Linked DNA regions of Homo sapiens: region 2 is linked to region 1. The links are contacts of gene promoters, found by promoter capture Hi-C in blood cells and fetal thymus (Javierre and others, 2016). All regions are on one chromosome and are shown on one strand. Each heading gives the region's core, a stretch centred on a gene start or on the middle of the fragment in contact. The rest is flanking DNA. Distances are from core to core; before and after follow the strand shown.

Evidence for each region. The method cuts DNA at HindIII sites, captures the fragments that hold promoters and counts their contacts. A CHiCAGO score of 5 or more calls a contact.
Region 2: a fragment that was not itself captured here is called in contact with the fragment with the promoter of OXSM in region 1 in 6 of 17 cell types (non-activated CD4 T cells, total CD8 T cells, naive CD8 T cells and 3 more); the score reaches 12.8 in non-activated CD4 T cells.

Annotation. Positions count from the first base shown.
Region 1 is chr3:25,784,346-25,791,415 of GRCh38, forward strand. OXSM (3-oxoacyl-ACP synthase, mitochondrial) reads left to right here and starts at 5,745. Exons shown (of 3, transcript NM_017897.3): 1 at 5,745-5,802; 2 at 6,645-7,070. The coding sequence starts at 6,676. It also overlaps a transcript of NGLY1 not described here. RefSeq lists enhancers at 5,224-5,753, 5,893-5,962, 5,973-6,042 and a silencer at 5,571-5,790. The HindIII fragment of the contact is 1,038 bases long and covers 5,079-6,116 here.
Region 2 is chr3:20,188,356-20,195,496 of GRCh38, forward strand. It overlaps the pseudogene RNY4P22. Among named protein-coding and RNA genes, the nearest start is that of SGO1, 5.7 kb to the left of the region's middle. The HindIII fragment of the contact is 1,792 bases long and covers 2,218-4,009 here.

The sequences.
Region 1 (7,070 bases), core at 4,495-6,994:
ATTATAGAATGTCGGGGGCGGGAAGGGAATAAAAATTTGCATCCCACACAGTAAGGGTAAGTAATATTTTGTGACTTGTTTTTTAGGTAGATCATGTGATCAAGGTCTTTTATTCCTCTTAGAAGATGCATCCCTTACTACTTTAATCCAGTCTCTTCCCCACCATGTTCTTGAAAGTGTACTTTACCAGTGGCTTCCTTCTTTGCAGAAATTCCTTTTCAACCTCACGAAGTATTTTTCTTGACTTTATTTCTTAAGATAAGTGATTTGCCTGAATAACCTCTTTTAAATTTCTTGATGTTTCATCTGTTTACTTTTAAGAATTGAAATTTTCTTCCAGAATCTCCGAACAAGACCCTAAGCTATGACATCCAGTTCAATGACTATTCGTCTCCCAAATATACGTACGCTTTTAATAAATATGTAAATCTTTGGACCACCTTCCAAGTATGGTGTGTTCAACAGATAGTAGTATGTTACTACCGTCTGTAACTAAAATTTTCAGGGGCTTAACACAAGAGTAATTTCTTTCTGGCTCATATAACACTTTAATAATGCAGGTGTCATAATGTCAGTGGACCCAGTCTCCTTCCATACCTTAGAACAGGGGTCAAGAAACATTTTCTGTAAAGGGCCACATAGTGTTTTAGGCTTTGTGAGCCATAAGGTCTGTCTCAACTATTTAACTCTGCCTCTGCAGCTGTTGCTCCACAGACAATACTTGAAAATAAATGGGCATGGTTATGTTCTAGTGAAATTTTATTTACAAATCCAGGCAGCCTGCTTGGACAAAAAAAAAAAAAAAAAAAAAAAAGTCACACCTACTTTTAACCACATGAGCCCAGAAATGACACACAGCATTTTCTCTACCATATCATTACTAAGAATGAGGCCTCATCAAGATAAAAGGGGGTATTTCAGTAAGGCCAGATTTACAAAAAATAAAAAAAAAATTTAAAAACACATAAAAAGATAAAAGGGGAGAGTCTGGGAAATGTAGTCTCGTCCAACTACACAATGGATTGGGGGCTTGGGTCTGGAGATATAGCTATCACAAACTTTATTCCTCTTAATTTGGGTTTCTTTTTCCATTGATACATTTATTTATCCTTTACTAATTATATGAGAATAGTATATATTATACAGTACTTGTAACTTTTAAAAATGCAACAGAACTTTTTTTTTTTTTTCAAATAAAATTTTAGGGGCTGGACATGGTGGCTCACGCCTGTAATCCCAATACTTTGGGAGGCCGAGGTAGGTGGATCGCTTGAGCCCAGGAGTTCAAGACCAGCCTGGGCAACATGGCAAGACCCCATCTCTACAAAAAAAAAACAAAAACAAAAACATAGGAAGATTGTCTATATACAAAACACCAAAGTGGAAATGCTCTGGTATTGAAGCAGAGGTGTCAAGTGAAGGGCAGAAAGCTGTCAGCTAAGGCTTTCCCCTGACAGATAGAATGGTCATAGGGTACTTTTGTGGGGGAACAAAATGACTTTTGTTTTTCTCTTCATAATAGTTTGTTTCCTCAACTAAAACGCTATCTCACTGTAAGTTATCATTAGTTTTGTCTTCCCTATTTGATTAAAAGTCTCTTGTGCCATCTGTCTCAGACTGCTTTGCACACAGCAGGTACTGAATAGAGTTGTTGGTTAATCACTCAATGTAGTCACACAATAGTGAATCACTATACAAATTCCTGAAAGACTTCAACTCCTCCCCTTGCTAATGGTTTTTATGGAGGTTAACTTTTTAATATCACCAAACCAATCGTGGGGAAAATTTACAGAGTTCTTTCTTTTTTGTTTTATTAAAGAATAGTGTTAGCCAGGCGTGTTAGTGCACACCTGGAGTCCCAGCTACTTGGGAGGCTGAGAGGCAGGAGAATCGCTTGAACCCAGGAGGCAGAGGTTGCAGTGAGCTGAGGTTGCCCTACTGCACTCCAGCCTGGGTGACAGAGCGGGACTCTACCTCAAAAAAAAAAAAGAATAGCGCCATGATATGTCAACTCTAAAAATGATGTTTTTAATAAAGGTGAAATCCTGGGGAAAAAAAAAATCTTTATTTTGGAACAAAAATAAATAAATAAAAGAACAAGAATTTCAATGCTGATTTAGTACCCATTCTTTGGTTGTTTGAAACAACGATGGGTATAAAAGTTAGGGTAGCTTATTCAGCTTTTCTAAAGGAAATGGAAGAATTAGAATATCTCCAACTTGACTGAAGTGGGGGAAGCAGCCAGGAAAATGAGAGACCAAGTCCCTTTATATAATGGATTCCCTTAATAGCTTTATAAATGGCAATATTCAAAAGAGATTACAGTTACTCAAGAACTTTAACAGAAGTGTTGCTAAAGAGTTATTTGGAAGGACTTAAATTTCAGATGATTTTTTTAAAATGGTGATTTCCATGATTTTATGGACTGTACATTGTTATCACAATATTAATGCTATGGCATTGGTTTTCGCAAAAGTCATTTGGTGAGAAATGCACAAAAAGTGCATGTGTACTATCAAATGTAAGGATAAATGTTGATTTATTCATTCCATAATTCATTCATTCATCATGTATTTATGAAGTGACTACTAGTTGCTCAGCACTGTGAAGGAGACAAGTATGGTCCCTACTTTCATAGAAGTCATAAGTTTAGAGCAGTGGTTGGACAAGCAACAGCAGCATCAGCAGGAAACTTGTCAGAAAAACAAATTCTGAAGCTCCACATTTAAAGGTGGGACCCAGCAATCTGTGTGGTAACAAGCCCTTCAGGTGATTTTGATTAACAGTAAACTTTGAGAACTACTAGTTTAGAGGGAGGAAAATTTCACTGTGGGCTGCAGTTTCAGTGAGGGGGGACAACTTGAACAGAAGCCTTAAATTGAGAGGTTGAGAAGGTGAGAAAGGAGAGGACTTGCTACCTGTGAGAGACTCCCCACCCTCCTTAAATCATGTACAATATCCTAGTAACGTTTCCTTCTCAACATCTCCTGGATCTCTCCTTGCCATTGCCTTCAGAGCCTCGTGTTTCATCCATTCTTAACTTTCTTCCCTGTGTCCATTTCCACATCCTTCCAACCCACCCTGCTCATTTGTGCAATAGTGATCTTTCTAAAGCACCCATCTGATCATGTTGTTCTCCTGGTAAAAAGTTTTCTATGGCTCCCTCTATCCACATTCTAAAGTCAAATGGTGTCAGGAACCAGGCTGGTAAGTTAAATATTTTAAGTGGCTTTGTTCAAGACAAAGAGGAGTAAGAGAGACTCCAGTGAAGGGAATGAGAGAGTTTACCATGTCCTTTCTAGAGGAGTTTAGAATCAATAAAAGAATGTTGCACTCCAAATTATACCATGAAGGCTAGCATATGGTCTCTGAACTACGGGATTAAATCCAAAGTCCTCAGTATGATACCCCAGGCTTTTGTGATCTGGGCCCTGCCTTACTCTCATGCGTTTACTGTTGCTTTGTCCCACACTTCAAATTTGACATGGGCCACATATTTAGCTGTTTGTGGAAGATACCATGACACTTCATTTCTCCAGGCCTTTGTTCTCCTCCTGCCAGGATGCCCTTTCCCACCCAATTTACTAGACAAACATTCATTTCCAAGATGCAGTTCAAGGATCATTTCTCTGAAGCCTTTTCTGACTTTACGAGGTAGCACAGACCTCATTGTCCCTTTTGTGTTATAATAATTCCACTATAGCACCTGTTTCAACAGTTTGCACTTACTTGTTTCTATGGGTGTCTCCCTTTACTAGACCATAAACTTCTTGAAAGCAAGAGCCATACCTCTACTCATTTTTGCATTCAAACTTCAAGCATTGATAGGAAGAAAATGAGTGGTTGTTGAAAATAGCAAAAGCACAGAGATGAGAAAAGTTAGGGTCAATCAAGACATGTATAGTGAGAAAATCAGTTTGCTGGGTGGCAAGCTCATTTAATAGAGAATGGGAGCCATAATTGGAAAGATAGTTTTGAATCAGATTACAAAGAATTTAAGGCAAACCTAGGAAGTCTTAATAGGAGGGTAGGATAAGCAGAGCCCATTTGAAGATTTTGGTGCAAGAAGACACGATGGAATTGTAGCAGGAAATATGGTACCAAATATGTAAAGCCATTAAATATCATAAAATTTCCCACCCTTTTCCAGATCAAAGAAAAGGTGATAAGAGGTAGATACAAAAATGATGGTCTTTTTATTTTTCTGAAAGATTTTGTCACCTCTTAGCCAAGACGATTTTGTGATATTACAAAAGAAATAGCACATTAAAACTGTATGTTTCTTATGAGTTCAGCTTCAGAGAAAATATTGTAGGTATTTTCACACTATTATTTTAAAGACAGCAATGAAAAGAGATCAAGTTTAGGTACTTACTCATCAAGTGTTACTTTATAACCACATGTGTTTGTTTTAATTCTTCAAGAAACTCTACTTTGTCACTGAATGAGGATCAACTAGAGGTGACTGGTTAGGCCTGGGACGAAGGTCAAACTGAGCTTTGCTGAATTATTTTAAACAAAATAGATTTCCAAACTCATTTAAATCCAGGACCAACCTGGAAAGCTAAGCTTGACTCACATTCTTCTGTAGGGGTAGGAAAGAATGCAGAGCACTCTACTTGGAAACAATGGCTTCAAGAGGCATTGCCCAGAAAAAACCATAAATATGACTAGAAGGTCCAGATGAAGATTCTATGCTCAACCATTTTTCTAAAGAAGAGCAAGGACAAAACTCACGCCTGGGATAGCATGTGAAAAACAGATGTTCGATGAATACCATCTTGTCGACTTCTTGCTTTTTTACATTTTCATGTTATATTTTCCCTTTATCGGTTTGCAGTCAGCTCTAAGCAAACAGTTAATGAATTTTTCACACTTAGAAACAAATGTCTCCATTGTGACAATGGAGACAATTTTTGAGCACTGTCTCAAATCTGGTGATAATTTTTTTTTAAGTGAAAGGAAGTTTATTAGGAAAGTAAAGGAACAAAGAATGACTACTCCATAGGCAGAACAGCCTGGTGACAACTTTTAAAAAGTAAAAACTTTATTACAAAAACATTTGTTTATTGTAGAAAAGCTTTATTAAATAAAGCTAAGCAAAAATAAGGAGGGAAAGATCACAATCAGTATACATCTTGCAGACCTTTAAAGAATTATTTTTGAAAAAACGGATATATACTGTTTTGTAACTATGTCTCCTAACAAATAGTCGCAACATCTCATTAATAAATATTCACCTGCAGAATTATTTTAAACGGCTGCATGGCATTTGGATGTACCACAAGATACACAACAAATTTCCTGATGTTGGCCATTTTGGTTAATTCCACTTTACTCACAATTACTAATAACGTTGCGAGCTATAGCAATAACTTTGAAACTGCAGAGAATTTCCTTAATTCTTTCTTACAATTCCAGTAGAATACGATGGTGTCCCTTCTCCGACAAAAGGGAATATTTGGGCATTATCACTGCCAAAGAAAAATGCCTTTTTGATGGGTGAAAATGCTACCTCATCGCGTTATTGGCAGGTCCTCGATTATCGGCGAGTCACTGAGGTTCCGAGAGGGGCGTCTCTGCTCACGCAAACAGCTACCCAGCCGCCTCCCACGGTCTGACCTCAGCCAAGGTGACGCGGCTTAAAGTCAACCGGCGGAAAGAGAGTCGAACGGGACGCGTGCGTGGGAAAGCGCATGAGCGTACGTGCGAGCGCGCATGAGCGTACGTGCGTGTGCGCGTGCGCTCGAGAGCGTCATCGCCCCCGACTGTGGAGAAGTGTCCGGGGTAGCCCCGTTACAGGTATCGCTGGCTACCCTCCTCCTTCGCCCCTCCTTTCCTCCTTTACATTCAAATCAAGTCGGGGTTGAATTTCGAGAGGGGAGTCCGAGGACCTGGGGCCTGATTTCTTTTTCTCTCGCCATGCTTCTTCGGGCTGTGTACATGTGTGGTGGTGCCTGAGAGGCGATACAGGGAATGGCTACACTCTTTTACTCCCGCCCCTGGCCTTCGTAGTACCCTTGAAGTGATCCACTAGTCGTAACCCCTCCTTCCACCAATGATTCAATTGGAGAAGTTTAGAGGAGTGGAAAGACTTGTCCCCTTCCCCCATCGCAAGCTTGGTCACAGAGTGTATTGCCAACCCATGTATCCAGACGCTCAGTCTAGGGCTCTTGGCCCTGGGTAGCGTTTTGAAAAGGCTGGTTATCCTTAAGTACTGAAGATTGATAAAGCCCACTTACTTACTTAAAAGAATATGCCCTGAAATGTGTTTTCTGTGCCACTGACACCAGAAATGCTATTTAGAAGAAGTTATCAGTAATCCTGACAAAGGATGCTTCCTGCAGCTCAAATCAGGCTGGAGGTGCCTTTATATTTTTCATTGAATTACTGTTTTGGTGACTCGAATGAATCATCAATTCATTTATTTGTCTTCAAATGTCTGACGGCACTTAAGGTCTAAAAAAGAAGGTAAGTTTAAACAGATAGTTTGATGTTAAGGTATAAATTGAAAGTATGTAACATTTTCCCTGTGTTCATTAGCAGCTCATATCAAGCACCCAAAGGAACACCTTGGATGTTTTTCCTTAGGCCCTTAAGCTATTTAAAAGAATACCTCCTAGGTGTGTTGTGGTCTTTTACAGGAATGTGTTTCTGATCATCTGAATCTTAATCATGTCCAACTGCCTGCAAAATTTCCTGAAAATTACAAGCACTCGTCTTCTATGTTCAAGATTATGCCAACAGTTAAGAAGTAAAAGGAAGTTTTTCGGAACTGTGCCAATATCCAGATTGCATAGGCGAGTTGTCATTACAGGCATTGGCTTAGTGACTCCTCTTGGTGTTGGAACTCACCTGGTTTGGGATCGTCTTATCGGAGGAGAGAGTGGAATTGTTTCACTGGTTGGTGAAGAGTATAAGAGTATCCCTTGCAGTGTTGCTGCTTATGTGCCAAGAGGTAGTGATGAAGGTCAGTTCAATGAACAAAACTTTGTGTCCAAATCAGATATCAAGTCCATGTCTTCTCCCACCATCATGGCCATTGGGGCTGCAGAATTAGCCATGAAGGA
Region 2 (7,141 bases), core at 1,864-4,363, 5.6 Mb before region 1:
CTTCCAAACTGGGATTACAGGCTAAGCCATCATGCCCAACCACGTTACTATATTTTCTAACCACTTACACTAAAAGTGATGGCATGAAAGGAAAAGGAAAGATAAGACATTCCACAATTCCTTTTCTTTTCAGTCTTTCTCTACTTATCGGTAAGCTGAAGGTTTTTGTCTTGGATTTTGAACAAGGAGCATCATATTTTCATTTCACATTGACCCACACAGATTATATAGCTGGCCCTGACCAAAGGCTTTGAGGTTCTGACTTTTTGAGGGGTGTCTTCCCCGTTCCCAATTTAAAAATGGGTCAGACTTCAAATCAGGTGTTTATTATAGAGCCCTAAAGAATAGAAATGGCTGAATTTAGGGGCAGTGAGGGAAAATACCACCAGAGTCCTAGCATGAGTAACTTTTGTACATCAAAATGTTCTACTGCCGCTGATTTTAGGGAACTGAATTACTGTTGGAATCAATAGCTCTTTTAAAATTTTGTGGAAACTACAACTCTTCCCAGGAAGAATGCACATATTCCTTTTTGAACAAAAATATGCATATTTCAAAGAGTACTAAATGGTGGACTGGAGTTTGAACCCAGGAAGCCTGGCTCCAAAGTCCATGCTATTAACAGCTGGACTATGTTCTGCGACTTCTCCCTTTTGTTATATCACAGTTGTACCCAGCCTAATTCAGAGATAATCCATGGTTTAATTATATCGCAAAGTACAGTGTAGGAACACATCATCTAGCTGACAAACTGAGAAGAACCTATGAAAGGGTAACCAATTAGTGAAAATTCTTTGTTTAATTTAATAGATGTTTAGAATAGTTATGGTATAATTCAAATCATTTTAACTTCTTAAAAAGCTTGCTCTCAAATGATAGTGAATATTTGTAGCTGCATTACTTTCAAGGTTTTTCAAAATGTGAATGCATGTTATTTCTACTTTCATTGGTTTTAACTTTATGATGTATTTAAAATATAATGAGCACTCACATTCTCCCCTGCAAGTTCCTAAAATCCCAATAAAACTGCTTGTTACTAATCTTTAACTGCCTTGTTCCTAACATTTATTACTATGTGCAGATTTTATGATTTTTATTTACGGAGCTGAAGTCCTGCACAGACTTGATATCTTCTTCTGATTTCTTCTTGGTGGTGGTGGTTGTTTTCTGACAGGGTTTGTCACTCTGCTGCCCAGGCTGGAGGGTAGTGGTGCGATCATGGCTTGCTGCAGCCTCAACTTCCCAGGCTCAAGTGATCCTACCACCTCAGCCTTCTGAGTAGCTGGGACCATAGGCATGCATTGCTATGTCCAGCTAATTAAAAAAAAAAAATCTGTAGAGACAGGGTCTTGCTATTTTGCCTGGGCTTGTCTCGAACTCTTGGGCTCAAACCACTCTCCTGCCTTGGCGTCCCAAAGTGCTGGGATTACAGGCATGAACCACCATGCTTGGACTTCTCCTGAATTTTTATCAATATTATTATTTTGTATTTTATTATTTCTTTCTGGTTCATGTTCTCTTGTGATCTCCTTATTTTTAAAGAAAAAAATTAAACTCCTCTCTGTTTATTTGACAATCAAAAATATATTAATGTGTCTCCTCTCTGGAATTAATATTTTAAAAAAATTTTTTGAGAAAGTTTAATACAATAGTTATCATGGAATGTGGTGCGGATTAACTTGAATAGCAATACAAAAATTAGTAATTTGGTGACCAAAATTTTCAAAACTGAAATACAGCAAGGCATCAAAATGTTTTGTGACTGTATTTTTTTGACGTCTGCTTTTATTAGTTTAGTACTTTCTTCAGCTCAATAGTGACAGGCTTTGGAGAGTTTGTACATGCATAAAGTGGGCAGAAGACTACAAGGAATAGATAGCACTTTATGCTGTTTTTATGTTTCATTTGTGTTTTTCAGAAATATGCATATGTATTGCTTTCATAAGGCTATTATTTATTGTATAGTGGAATTCATGTCTTTTTTTTTTTTTTTTTTTTTAGTGGTTCCCATTTCTCTTAGCATAGCGAGACATGTGAACAATTAGTTGAATTATAACAGCTAACACTGAATGAGGGCATACTTTCTGCCAGGAAAATACTAGTGCTTTATATGAATTAACTCATTTTATCCTTGTGATAAAGCTTATAAACCTATTTTTTCAGATGAAGAAATAGAGGCGTAATGTGGTGAATCTAGTAAGCATGAAGCCAGGTACAAGCTTTGCTGTCAATCTGACTCCAGGGCCTGTGTCCTTAATCATGATACTATATACTTTAAATACATTTACATTTATTGATGTTGCTTTGACCTTTGTCAAATCATTCAAATGTCTAAAGGCCTACCACATACAGATGTGAGGAAGTCTTTGTGATGGCTAATGTGAGTGTAAGTCCCAGAGGAAAAGGGATACATACACACATACCAGAGTTATGTCATTTTTGTTAAGGCTTTATGCTAGAAACACAAATTATTGATGCTATGTTATTTTGTTGCTAATTTTGGTTTTGTGTCATGTGCTGATATCATGAACCAGTAAACACTTATGGATCATTAAAAGGGATATAAGCATTAAAAGGACAATAAGAATAGTCGAGTACGATCAAAATCAGTGTTTAGTTCCATCTCAAGCAGCCTGGTAAGAATAAGGCAGAGAGAAATTTAACACATACGGAGAGAAGGCAATGTGAAGATGAAGATAGAAATTATAGTCATGAGGCCACAAGCCAGGCACAGAGAGGGTGATGTGAAGACTAGCAGAGGGAAAGATGTCACAAACCTAGGAATGCCGACAGCTGCCAGAAACTGGAAGAGGCAAGGAGTGGATTTCGTTCTGAGCCTCCAGAGGGAGTACCACCTGCTGACACCTTGGCTTTGGACGTCTGGCCTTCAGAACTGTGAAAGAATAAATTTCTTTCGTTTTAAGTGACCCCACTTGTGGTAATTTGTAATAGCAGCCCTAGGAAACTAACATACCACCTATCCAACAAAGGACTAGTCTTTATAATAAGTATATAAATATCCAAATTCAACAGGGAAAAAGCAAACAATCCAATTAGAAAATGTGCAAGGCTGGGCACAGTGGCTCATGCCTGTAATCCCAGCACTTTGGGAGGCCCAGGCGGGCGGATCACGAAGTCAGGAGATCAAGATCATCCTGGCCAACATGGTGAAACGCCGTCTACTAAATATACAAAAATTAGCTGGGTGTGGCACAGTGTGTGCCTGTATTTCCAGCTACTAGGGAGGCTGAGGCATGAGAATTGCTTGAACCCAGGAGGCGGAGGTTGCAGTGAGCCGAAATCATGCCACTGCATTCCATCCTGGCAACAGAGCAAGAGTCCGTCTCAAAAAAAAAAAAAAAAGAAAAAAAGAAAATGTGGAAAAGACATGCACAGAAATTTTACTAAAGAGGATAACCCGATGTCAGATAAGCCTGTGAAAAAAATGTTTTGACATGGTTAGTCGTCAGGGAAATGAAAATTAAAACCACAATGAGATAGCACTACACATCTATCAGAATAGCTAAAATAAAAAAATAATGGCAACAGCAAATGCTGGTGAGGATGCAAAGAAACTGGATCACTCAGACATTGCTGGTGGGAATATAAAATGATACAGTAACTGCAAAACAATTGACAGTTTCTTAACAAACTAAATATTTGATTACCATATAACCCAGCAGTTGCACTCTTGGGGATTTTTTCCCTTAGAGAAACAAAAACTTACGTTTGCACAAAAACTTGGACATAAGTACAGGCTTTATTGATAATAATTTAAAACTGGAATAATCCCAGATGTACTTCAAAAAGGGAATGAGAGTATGGTACATCCATACCAAGGGAAATAAATAAAAAGGAATGAACTACTGATACATAAACAGTTTGGATGAATCTCCTAGGAATTATATTGAGTGAAAAGGGTCAGTCCCAAAAGGTTACATACTGTATGATTCCATTTATATAATACTTTTTTTTCAGGGGTGAGTAACTTTATTTTGATAAAATCATAAGCTTTGAAAAAACTTGCTCACACCTGTAATCCCAGCACTTTGGGAGGCTGAGGCAGGCAGATCACCTGAGGCCGGGAGTTCGAGACCAGCCTGGCCAACATGGTGAAATCCCGTCTCTACTAAAAATACAAAAATTAGCCAGGTGTGGTGGTGCACGCCTGTAATCCCAGCTACTTGGGAGGCTGAGGCAGGAGAATCACTTGAACCTGGGAGGCAGAGTTTGCAGTGAGCTGAGATTGAGCCACTGCCCTCCAGACAGAGCGAGACTCTTGTCTCCAAAAAAAAAAAAAAAGAAAGAAAGAGAAAATACTTGCATGAGTAAAAAGAACTATTTTTTTAGTCAAAACAACCTATTGTGAAAGTTTTGCCTCATTTATTTCATCATGTTTATTTCTTTATATATAAACATAGTTTTTTTTAAGCCAGTCAAATTTAGTGGGGGGTTATATATCAACCTTAGTGACACTAATATTAATAAGTTCTGATAACCCACTACCATCAGACCAGCCTAAACATAGTTTTTTCCCCATGAATTAGTTGAGAGTAAGTTGTAGACATTATGTACCTGTACCCATAAATATATAGTCTTTGTTCCCTAAGAGCAAAGATATTTTTTACGATATAATGATCAAAATCAGGAAATTTAACATAGATATGATATTCCTACCTAAACAACAGTTTGTCTTTAAATTTTGTCAAGTTTCCCAGTAATGTTGTTTATGGCTTTTTTTTTTTTTTTTTTTTTTTGGCCCGGGATCCAATTCAGGATATTGCATTACATTCAGTTGTCACATTTCTTTATTCTTTAATCTGATCATCAAATCTTTCTTTTATCTTTCTTGGTATCAACAGTGTTTAAGAGTATAGGCCAGTCACTTTGGGAGGCCAAGGCAGGTGGATTGCTTGAGGTTGAGTTCGAGACCAGCTTGAGCAACATGGTAAAATCCTGTCTCTACAAAAAAATACAAAAACTAGCTGGCAACAGTGGTATGCACCTGCAGTCCTAGCTGCTTGGGAAACTGAGGCAGGAGAATCGCTTGAGCCTGGGAGGCAGATGTTGCAGTGAACCAAGATCACACCATTGCAATCCAGTTTTGGCAATGGGAATGAAATTGTCTCAAAAAAAAAAAAAAGTATGGGGCAGTTATTTTGTAGAATGTCCCCCAGTTTGGGTTTCTCCAGTGCTTCCTTGAAGTTAGATTCAGGTTATTCATTTTTGACAGGAATACAAAGTGGTGTTTGCTCTTTCTGTGCATCATATCTAGAGACCTATGCTATCTATAGGTTTAATTACTGGTGATTTCTTTAAATAAATGAGAATTAATTTAATCACTTTGAACTATTACATCAGTTTCAGAGGCAAACCAACTTCTGAGCTTTTTCATTATATTCACTTATTCCTTCAGTCATCATCTCATTTATATAAGTTTTTCTTCTTTTTTTTAACTTTTATTTTAGGTTGGAGGGTATATATGAAGGTTTGTTACATAGGTAAACTCATGTCACAGGGGTTTGTTGCACAGATTATTTCTTCACCCAGGTAGTAAACCCAGTACCCCTCAGTGTTTGTTGTTCCCCTCTTTCTGTTCATGAGTCCTCATCATTTAGCTCTCACTTATAATTGAGAACATGCGGTATAAGGTTTTCTGTTGCTGCATTAATTTGCTAAGGATAATAGGCTCCAGCTCCATCCATGTTCATTTAAAAGCCATGATCTTGTTCTTTTATATGACCGCATAACATTTTTAAAATGACAAAATTTTAGAAAGGAGGGCAGACTAGTGTTTGCCATGGAATAGAAATAAAGATAGGGAGTGGTAGGAAGAAGGTAGGTATGATTTAGGGCAACCTGAAGGATCCTTGTGATATACCGTTTCCCCCCAACCTCTAAAAAATAAATAACAGATTAATTGAGATATAATTCACATACCATAAAATTCACCAATTTAAAGTGTATAATTCAATTTTTTTTGTATATTCACAGATATTTGCAACCATTCTTCCAATCAATTTTAGAAAATTTCCACCACCTCAAAAAGAAATCCTGTAAGTATTAGCAGTAATTCCCTATTTCTCCCTCTACAGCACTAGTCTACTTTCTCTCTCTAGATTTGCCTACTTGATACATTTCATATAAATGTAATCATGGAATATTTGGGCTTTTGTGACTGGCTTCTTTCACTTAGCATAATGATTTTAAGGTTTATCTATAATGTATCACATAACCATATTTCATTCCCTTGTATTGTCCAATGAAATATGCCATTGTATTTTTCTGCCACTTTGTATTTATCCATTTATATGCTAATGGATATTTAGCTTGTTTTTTTCTTTTTAACTATTATGAATAATGCATCTATGAACAATTGTGTACAGGTTTTTGTATGGACATATATTCTCATTTCTCTTGGATATATATTAAGAATGGAGTTGCTGGGTCACATAGTAACTCTATGTTTAATCATCTGAGGAATTGCCAGATTGCTTTCCCAAGCAGCTGCACCATTTTACTTTCCCACCAGCAGTACATGAGGGTTCCAATTTCTCTGTTTACGCACCAACACTTGTCATTATCTTTCTTCTTGATTCTAGCCATCCTAGTGGGTATGAATGGTATCTCACTGTGGATTTCATTTGCATTTCTCTGATGGTTAATGATATCAAGCATCTTTTCATGTACTTATGAGTCATTTGTATATCTTATCTGGAGGAATGTCTATGAGACAGTTTGCTCATTTTTAAAAATTGGGTTGTCTTTATTATTGAGTTGTAAGCGTTCTTTACATATTTTAAATAAAAATCCTTTACCAGATAAATGATTTACAAAAATTTTTTCCCATTCTGTGGGTTGTCCTTTCACTTCCTTTCTTTCTTTTTTTTTTTTCTGGGGTGGAGTTTCACTCTTGTCGCCCAGGCTGAAGTGCAGTGGCACAATCCTGGCTCACTGCAACTTCTGCCCCCACTTTGGATTCAAGCGATTCTCCTGCCTCAGCATCCCAAGTAGCTGGGATTACAGGCATGCACCACCATGCCTGGCTAATTTTTGTATTTTCCGTAGAGACGGAGTTTTGCCATGTTGGCCAGGCTGGTCTCGAACTCCTGACCTCAGGTGATCTCTCCGCCTCAGCCTT